Regions from separate parts of the Homo sapiens genome. Here all the other regions are linked to region 1. The links are contacts of gene promoters, found by promoter capture Hi-C in blood cells and fetal thymus (Javierre and others, 2016). All regions are on one chromosome and are shown on one strand. The core of a region is centred on a gene start or on the middle of the fragment in contact, and the rest is flanking DNA. Distances in the headings are between cores, read along the strand shown. Region 1 holds the start of TSPAN14 (tetraspanin 14). Region 2 overlaps GHITM (growth hormone inducible transmembrane protein). Region 3 overlaps CCSER2 (coiled-coil serine rich protein 2).

What was found. Contacts are between HindIII fragments. The CHiCAGO score rates a contact against its expected background, and 5 or more counts as called.
Region 2: a fragment that was not itself captured here is called in contact with the fragment with the promoter of TSPAN14 in region 1 in 3 of 17 cell types (naive B cells, total CD8 T cells and naive CD8 T cells); the score reaches 6.2 in naive B cells.
Region 3: a fragment that was not itself captured here is called in contact with the fragment with the promoter of TSPAN14 in region 1 in 2 of 17 cell types (total CD8 T cells and activated CD4 T cells); the score reaches 5.6 in total CD8 T cells.

What each region holds. Positions count from the first base shown.
Region 1 is chr10:80,452,887-80,455,586 of GRCh38, reverse strand. TSPAN14 (tetraspanin 14) reads right to left here and starts at 1,277. Exons shown (of 9, transcript NM_030927.4): 1 at 1,216-1,277. RefSeq lists enhancers at 162-211, 242-501, 451-968, 1,712-1,921 and a silencer at 632-1,681. The HindIII fragment of the contact is 5,289 bases long and covers 1-1,960 here.
Region 2 is chr10:84,146,235-84,148,934 of GRCh38, reverse strand. GHITM (growth hormone inducible transmembrane protein) reads right to left here. Exons shown (of 9, transcript NM_014394.3): 6 at 97-205. Among named protein-coding and RNA genes, the nearest start is that of GHITM, 8.1 kb to the right of the region's middle. The HindIII fragment of the contact is 1,167 bases long and covers 788-1,954 here.
Region 3 is chr10:84,333,377-84,336,076 of GRCh38, reverse strand. All of the region lies in intron 1 of CCSER2 (coiled-coil serine rich protein 2), which reads right to left. Among named protein-coding and RNA genes, the nearest start is that of CCSER2, 6.1 kb to the right of the region's middle. RefSeq lists an enhancer at 2,071-2,120. The HindIII fragment of the contact is 3,683 bases long and covers 1-2,700 here.

The DNA.
Region 1 (2,700 bases), core at 28-2,527:
TGGCCGGAGCACTCAGCAGGCACTAACTGCTTCTGGACTTCAAGGTCAAGGGGCAAGGGGAAGGCTACTTTTGAGGATTTGGCAGGCCACTCTCTCACTAGCCCAAGAGCAACTCCCTCTCGGAAGGGAGGAAGATCCCCTGGAGAGCAGACCACTGCCAAGAGCACACCTGCAGAGGCTCCAATACAATGCTCTGCACAGCCGCCCAGCACCGCCTGACCTCCCGGATAGCAGCGCCAGCACAGCCAACGAGTGTGTGACACCGCCGCACTCACCACCGCTCTGCGCCCAGCCCCAGGCCAGTACCCGGGCCCACGACTTCCCCCGACTCCCCCTAGCACGGACTGTTTCTCGCCGGAGATCAACTTTAAGTCCCCAAGACAAGTGCTCCTGCGGTCCCAGGGCCAAAGTCCCTCCACACACCCTCACACAGGCACTTCCTACCCACCCGCACCCCACCCCTGGGGGTGGAGGAGAAGCAGCAGCGGCCCGGGACAAGCACAGTCCGCAGCCACAAACCTCACTCTACCAGAACTCCGGCTAGGTCAGGGGTCAGGCTTTGCTCCCAAACACAACCCCACACGACTAACGCGGAGAAGCTGGGTCACCGCCTACTCAAACTCCGGCCGTCCCAAACCCAAGCCGGGCAGAGTGGGACCCACGGCGGCGTGGGAGACTGAGCACAACCACGGCGGGGCAGGAGGAAGGGGCGGCCCGCCCCGGCCTACGCCCACCCCCACCCCGGACCCGATCTCCTGGGAGCCGAGGGTGGGTGACTGAGCCGAAAGGGTGGCCCATCCCCGAGCTCGCTGCTGGGGACGAGAAGCAGAGCCCCGAGCAGCAGCGGCCGTCCAGGCTCCCGTCGCCCTCACCCCGCCCGGCACGGGCGCGCACTCGCCGGGGCGCGCTGATGGGGCGAGGGCTACCGAACCAGGAGTGCCGGCCCCGGGCCCGCCGCGGCTCTCGTCCGCGCGGCGCCGGAGTTCGGCTCAGCGGGGTCCCGGCGGAGGCCTCCAACCTCTAGCGAGCAATCCTGGCAGACAAAGCCAGCGCCGCCCGCGGGGCCGCTCCTGGGCAGGCGGGGAGGGAGGCTGAGGGGCCAAACAGGGACCTAAGGAGCAGCCCTCGCCCCCGGAGAACGCTCGGGGAAGTCGGCCTCAGACAAAGAAAGGGGCAGGGCCCGACGCCCCAGCCAGGTCTCCGCGCTCTACTCACCCGCGCGCGGCGGCGGCAGCGGCGGCGCGGCCCGGCTCGGCCGAGGAAGTTAGAGCAAGTTCCGCGGCGCGGGGCGGGAGGGCGCGACTCGGGCCGTCCGAGCGGCGGGGGCGGGGCGCGGAGGGGCGCGGAGGGGCGGGGCCGGAGGCGCGGCGCCTGCCGTCTGCCGAGGAAGGGGCGCCGCTTCCCTGCGCCGCCCGGTGCGGCCCCGGGCGCCTGGGCCCGCCCTGGCCCCGCCCCTCCCCCAGCCGCCTCGCCCCTCCCCCACCGCACCCCGCCTCCCGGCCCGCGCGGCACCGGGGACCGCGAGGCCGGGTCGCCGGCCCGCCCCTTTGTCCCGCTCTGGGCGGTGCCGGAGGCTTGGGGCGGCCCCGGTCCGCGCCCTCCCAGTGGGTGCGCGGCGCAGGCCGGGCCTGGCCCGGGGCCGGGCACTTGTAGCCGCCGGGAGCGCTCTGAGCCGTTGCGCTGCGCAGACGCCGCTCTGGCCTTGTCGGAGCCGAACCTGGGAGAAGCACGAGCTGTGGGAGGCGGCGTCTCGAGGGATACACGGGATGACCGTGGAGAGCGGGCGAAGGATTAGGAAAATGGCTGTGGTGGAGATAAGAGGCGTTCCTGCCCGGCTTTGGAGCCTGGGGGCGGGGGTAGTCTTCAATCAAAAGAAGGATGGGGAAAAGGTTTTTATTTCTTTGTAAACCAAGGAGTAAGGACACGCTCCTTCTGGCCTTGGTGCTAAAAATACCAAGCTTTCTTTGGATCGTGGCTGAGATTTCTTCCTAACCTTTACGCTAAAGAGGTGGCTGGGACGATTCTTGTGGTGTAGGGGGGTTTCCAGGGACAGCCAGGGGTGGCGCCCCTCTTTGGATCGTGGCTGAGATTTGTTCCTCACCTTTACGCTAAAGAGATGGCTGGGACGATTCCTGTGGGGTAGAGGGGTTTCCAGGGATAGCCAGGGGCGGCTCCCCAGCCTCAGCCTCCCTACCTGTAGAATGAAGCATGCCACACCTCTGTTTCTTAAACTTATTCGGTGGCTGAGGGCCGAGTGGTCTTCTCTGTTGAGTAACACCAAACAGGGATCTATTAAAACTGGGCTAAGACTGGTTGCCACATGCCAGTACAAGCAACCAACAGGTTAATTCCAATGGAAGGAGGAAATCTTGAAATGGAGACTGTTCAGTCCATTCCCAGGTTTGTTTGGGTTGTTTTTTGAGCTAAGGTATCGCTTTGTCACCCAGGCTGGAGTGCAGTGGCATGACCATGGCTCACTGCAGCCTCGACCTCCCGCCTCAGCTTCCCCAAGTAGCTGGGACCACAGGTGCAGGCCACCACACCTAGCTAATTTTTTTTTTTTTTTTTTTGTAGAGACGAGATCTTGCTGTGTTGCCAGTGATGGTCTTAAATTCCTGGGCTTAAGCAATCCTTCCGCCTCTGCCTCCCAGAGTGCTGGAATTACACGCATGAGCCACGGTGCCTGGCTAATTTTATTTG
Region 2 (2,700 bases), core at 122-2,621, 3.7 Mb before region 1:
GGCTTAAATTCCATGTAGGTCATTTACAACTGTGAAGAGCCACCCAAAAAAGGTGGTAGTCAAGGTTGTCTCGTAACAATTTAAAACAGAACATACCAGAATGTAGCAACCAAGCAAGATGCTTTGGGCCTGGGCTCTGGTCATATGGTATTGATCGTACCAGCATTCCAGCTCCAACCATGGCTGCAAAGGTCACACCAATTGTCTGAAAGACAAGTACTATTAAGAAAAACTGATCTTTATATGAAAACAAAGCAGAAACCCACAGGTTTGAAGTACAATTAGTTACTTCTAATAAACTAGTTGTAAAAATATTAAAGATAATAAATCAAAGCTTAAGGCCAGGCGTGGTGGCTCACGCCTGCAATCCCAGCACTTTGGGAGGCTGGGGCAGGTGGATCACCTGAGGTCAGAAGTTTGAGACCAGCCTGGCTAACTGGTGAAACCCTGTCTCTACTACAAATACAAAAATTAGCCAGGCGCAGTGGTGCGCGCCTGTAGTCCCAGCTACTTGGGAGGCTGAGTGAGGTGGGAAAATCACTTGAACCCGGGAGGTGGAGGTTGCAATGAGGCAAGATCGTGCCACTGCACTCTAGCCTGGGTGACAGAGCGAGACTCCATCTCAAAATAAAAAAATAAAAAATAAAAAATAAAAAATAAAAACTTTAATTTTTCTGGCACATTAAAAGCTCTGGGTTTATTTCAGAGTTTTGGCTAAGTTAGCACGAGTGCCCCCTACTGCCATATATGAGGTTTTGCAGACAGCTTCAAATGCATGTCTTAAGCTTGAACTGGCAACACATCTTTTAACAATTTTACTCTTGTTGGACAGAGGTGAAACAAAAACCCTTTAGGGATCCCAAGATAATTAACTCTTAATTAAAAAATATATTTTTGTATAGCACAAATAGCATTTTCTTTAAAATCAGTGATGCTTACAAATTAGTAATTTTTAAAAAAAATATATATAGCACATCACTTTGAACTCCATATTTGCTAAATGAAGACTTGAAAAATAGAAAGTAGATTATCACAGCACATGGAAAAGAAAAATGAGAAATAAGATTCTACACTTCTACCCTTCCAGGTTTATGGCTAATTTGGTCCTCATTCCTTTTCTTTGCCTATCTTAGATTTCCAGTGTTATAATTAAATATTGCTTGTGTATGACAAGAAGAATGTATTAACATGTAATGGAAATAAGATGGTGCTAATCTCCAAGAAATTTAAATCAGAGATTGCAAACTTGTAGCCCTTGGAATCAGGCCACAGATGTTTTGTTTGGCAAACTATGTTTAAAAAAACAAACAAAAAAAAAGAACATGGTGAATGGTTTTAGTTGAAAAGGTTAACTCTAGATGTCAGTAACCTCTAGATGTCAACAATCTCCTGTGTGACACACTAGGCCTCCTCACTCATCTGTATTATCTGTCTCACCTATGAACATCAAAATATTCAACCTCTAATATAAAGTACAGGTAAACCAAATAGCTGGTTTTGCCAAGAATGGGAAAACCTTAACATGAAAAAGCATACTGAGCTGGGTGTAGTGGTATGGACCTGTAATGTCAGTTACTTGGGTGGCTGAGGTGAAAGGACCACTTGAGCCTGGGAATTTAAGCCAAGCCTAGGCAAACATAGAGATCTAGTCTCTATTTTTAAAAAACATTAAAAAGAAAAGAAAAGCATATCGAGCTCCACTCCACCATTTTCTAACGAGAAATAATTACTACAAACTATTTCACACATCCTCTGTGGACAGCAGCAATTAAATTTTTTTAAGATCTTCTATGATCCAGTCTCACTCCAAACTCTGCATTCCAACCATACGGAACTGGCACAGCTGCCAACATGCCCCAAAATTTCAGGCCTCCTTAATTCAATCCATCATGCCTAAGAATATCTCCTTCCATATCTGGTCGACTTACTCTGGTACTGTCTCATCTCAAAAGCTTTTTCTAGTAGGTACCCTGGCTGCCCAAGAGCAAGATCAGATACCTCTCCTCAGATGCACTTGGGACAAACTTTGACATTATCTGTGTGTCTATGTGTGTGTTTGTATATATATGTCTGTCACACCCAAAAGGTTACATCTTCATCTCTGTAACACTTGTCTTTGGCTTTCCTATTTTCTGTATTACTAACAGTGGAAGAGGGTAATCTTTTGCCCAGAAGGGACTGAGGATATGGCCCAAACACAAAACTTCTTTGAAGCCTCATTTTAGGGCCTAAAATTTTAGGTAAATATTGTCATGTTTATTACAAAAGTATTGTTTTAAATTATTTGCTTCTGATTAAAACTGACATCCCCAGTGAAACATTCTGTGCCTTTGTGAACCTCTGGGCTGGGAGATTCATGACGTCTATGTGAAAAAGCATGATCCTAAGAATATATAAATATCCAAATGGCTGCTACTGTAAATGGTTATCCTTTAGTAAAGTACAACACAGTGAAAATAATATGGTTTTCGTCCCTATGTGGGGAATCAGTGTTACATGAACTCTCCTTCCCCTCCAGTATCACACTCTGCTCTAGTTCAGGTTCTTATCATCCCTCATTTCAGATCTTACAAAGGCACAGCTGGTACACCTGCTCCATGTCTCTTCCACATTGGTTCTAAAAACTCAAATATAAATCACGCTTTTGTTGTTCCAGTATCTCCAATGGCCTCCGACTGCTTAGGTTCTCTCCTCAGCTTG
Region 3 (2,700 bases), core at 86-2,585, 3.9 Mb before region 1:
TACCATACTACTCCTAAAATGAGGAAAATATACCTGAGAAAAAATTTTAAATAAGGAAAAGAAACAAAACAAAACAGAAAGATGGCCATCCCTGCCTCCCCACCCCGAAAAGAAATATCACCTGGATGTTTCCTATAAAGTGGCCTACCAACTCTGACCAAAATATCATCAAGTCCATTCTACAGACTTAAATAGCTATTATGAATAGTCCCTGTTTTTCTAAGCTAAGATCTTCAGAGAAAATTATTATATAACTCCCAACCCTAACACTGGCTGCCAAGAGATAATGGTCAGAGAAAGCTCTCAAATTGCCCTAAAGCACTCAGGCTGCAACGAAATATCATTAATATGATGACAACAACAATTCAAAGTACCTTCTGGTATCTGTCTTGCTTCTTTGTCCCTAGCGTATTCACTAGGGCCTTCGTCATCAAAGGTTTTGCAATCTTGACATGGGGGCAGTGTTGGGGAGGAGGGTAGGCAACTCAAAAAAACAGGACTGGAATTTAATTTTGCATTTTAAAGAAAAGCAGGGCCAGTTGTGGTGGCTCACACCTGTAATCCCAGCACTTTGGGAGGTAAAAGCAGGAGGGTCATTTGAGCCCAGGAGTTTCAGCCCAGCCTGGGTAACATGGGGAGACCCTGTCTCTATGGAAAATTTTTAAAATTAGCCAGGCATGGTGGTACATGCCTGTAGTCCCAGCTACAGGTTGAGTACAGGTTGGGAAGCCAAGGCAGGAGGATAGCTAGAGCCCAGGAGGTCAAGGCTGCAGTGAGCCATGATGACACCACTGCACTCCAGCCTGGGTCCAGAGACCCTGTCTCAAAAAAAAAAAAAAAAAAAAAAAGAGAGAGAGAGAAGTAGAATGCTGGGGAACAGAAAACACTTGCTCAGATACAAGATGTCACTGGGCTTTTCAATACCAGGCACCAAAAGAGAGATCACAGAAGGACCAAAACCCTGAGATGCCCATCGTTCCTCAGCTAAAGAGCCATGCCTTGCATTTCTATTCTCACACACAGAACTCAAGATACAGGGTAGGAGACCATGCCAAAGTGAACAGCTGGGAGCAGCGATGGCAGGGAGGAGAGCAGTAACAACTACCATAACAAAGGGAAGGAAGGAGTAATCCCTCATGCTTTTTCTCTTTTCCCTTTCCCACTGTCCTTATCAAGGACAGAAACAGGGTAGATGAAAACAGGAGAAGGCAGAGAACAGAGGGTAAGGATGGCCTGAAGCAAATGGTTGTAGAAAAAAATCAATAGCAAATTCCTTTACCAAGTAACTCTTTGAAAAACAGACATATGAAGTAAGTTAGGAGCTGACCAAGAAAATTTAAAACAAGCCCCTGTCTTACGTAGCTATAAAGTACAAAGAAAACAGAGATTCTTAATTATTTGGAATAATCTGTGGCATTTTTAAGACCAACAGTCTTCAAAGATGATCCAACTATACTGAAACTAAGCTACTGATCAACTTGAAAAAATAAACAGGTAAAAAACTTCAGTGCTCATGGATCCAACCTTTAAGAATCCTCTGGCTTCCCAATGGCTCCAAACCTTAATATAATCAACCAGAAGTCTTTAAAGGTAGAGAAGTAACTCTAGGACATTCCAAACCAATCAACTCATCAGAGAAGAGCTAAAAACTCAGAAATTACATCTCACATACTATGATTGGTCAATTCACTTAAAAAGAAAGGACTGTTCTCATTGGTTGATCTCAATAGGCTGAATCACACCCCAGCATCAGCACCTGTAGCAAGCAGAAGTCAGAAGCCAAAGAGGCAGAAAGCCATCAGATACTCAGAGAAAACTTAAGTAGTCAATAACAACGGAAAGACAAGTTCACCCTATACAACCACAATCAGCTTATGACAGCAGGGCACACCAACCACAACTGTTTGTAGCCTGAGGTGGCAGCATTCTACATGCTCATGTCTGTGCTAATACTTCCCTACCCCTCTGCCTCCTCCCTGATGGCTCTTCCCCCATCCTCCCTGACAGCTGTCACATTCTAGAGCTACTCTTCCTCCACCCACTCTTTCATTTTGGTAATTTGGTGTTTCCCAGTTCAGTCTCTTGACCTTTCTGTATTATTTCATCCTATATTCACTCATTCCTCTACTCAGTCCCTATCTTTGACAAGCACACAATCCAGTGGGGGAGACAGATATGTTACTAGAATAGGTACAATACATCACAGTCAACGCTGTGAAAGAAATATAACAAAGTGCTGTGAGCACATATTCATCTGTCATTACCCCACTCAATGTCTTCCAAATCAATACACTGCCTTCCCACTCTGTTGTGTATCAGTTACTAATTCCTATATATTTCCAAAATATCCCGATCTCCACTTCCACCTCAAGGTTTAGCCTTCATTTCTCACATGAATATTTCAACCACTTCCTATTATAAACATAATTCAATATATAGCCACATTGTCACATGAGCAATCTCCCTAAAAGAGATAACATACCATATCATCCCCTTGCTTTGCAACACCTAATCTTTCCAATGTCTAAGAAATGAAGTCCAAATCCTTGGCATGGATAATAAGATAATACTTTTGAAATAGCATCTTTTAAAAGCAGGCTGACTGAGTTCCAGTTCCAATGCTTACTACCTATGTTATCCTTGGCAGGTCACAGTCTCTATATTTTCATATCCACAAAATGAGGATACTAAAAGAACCTA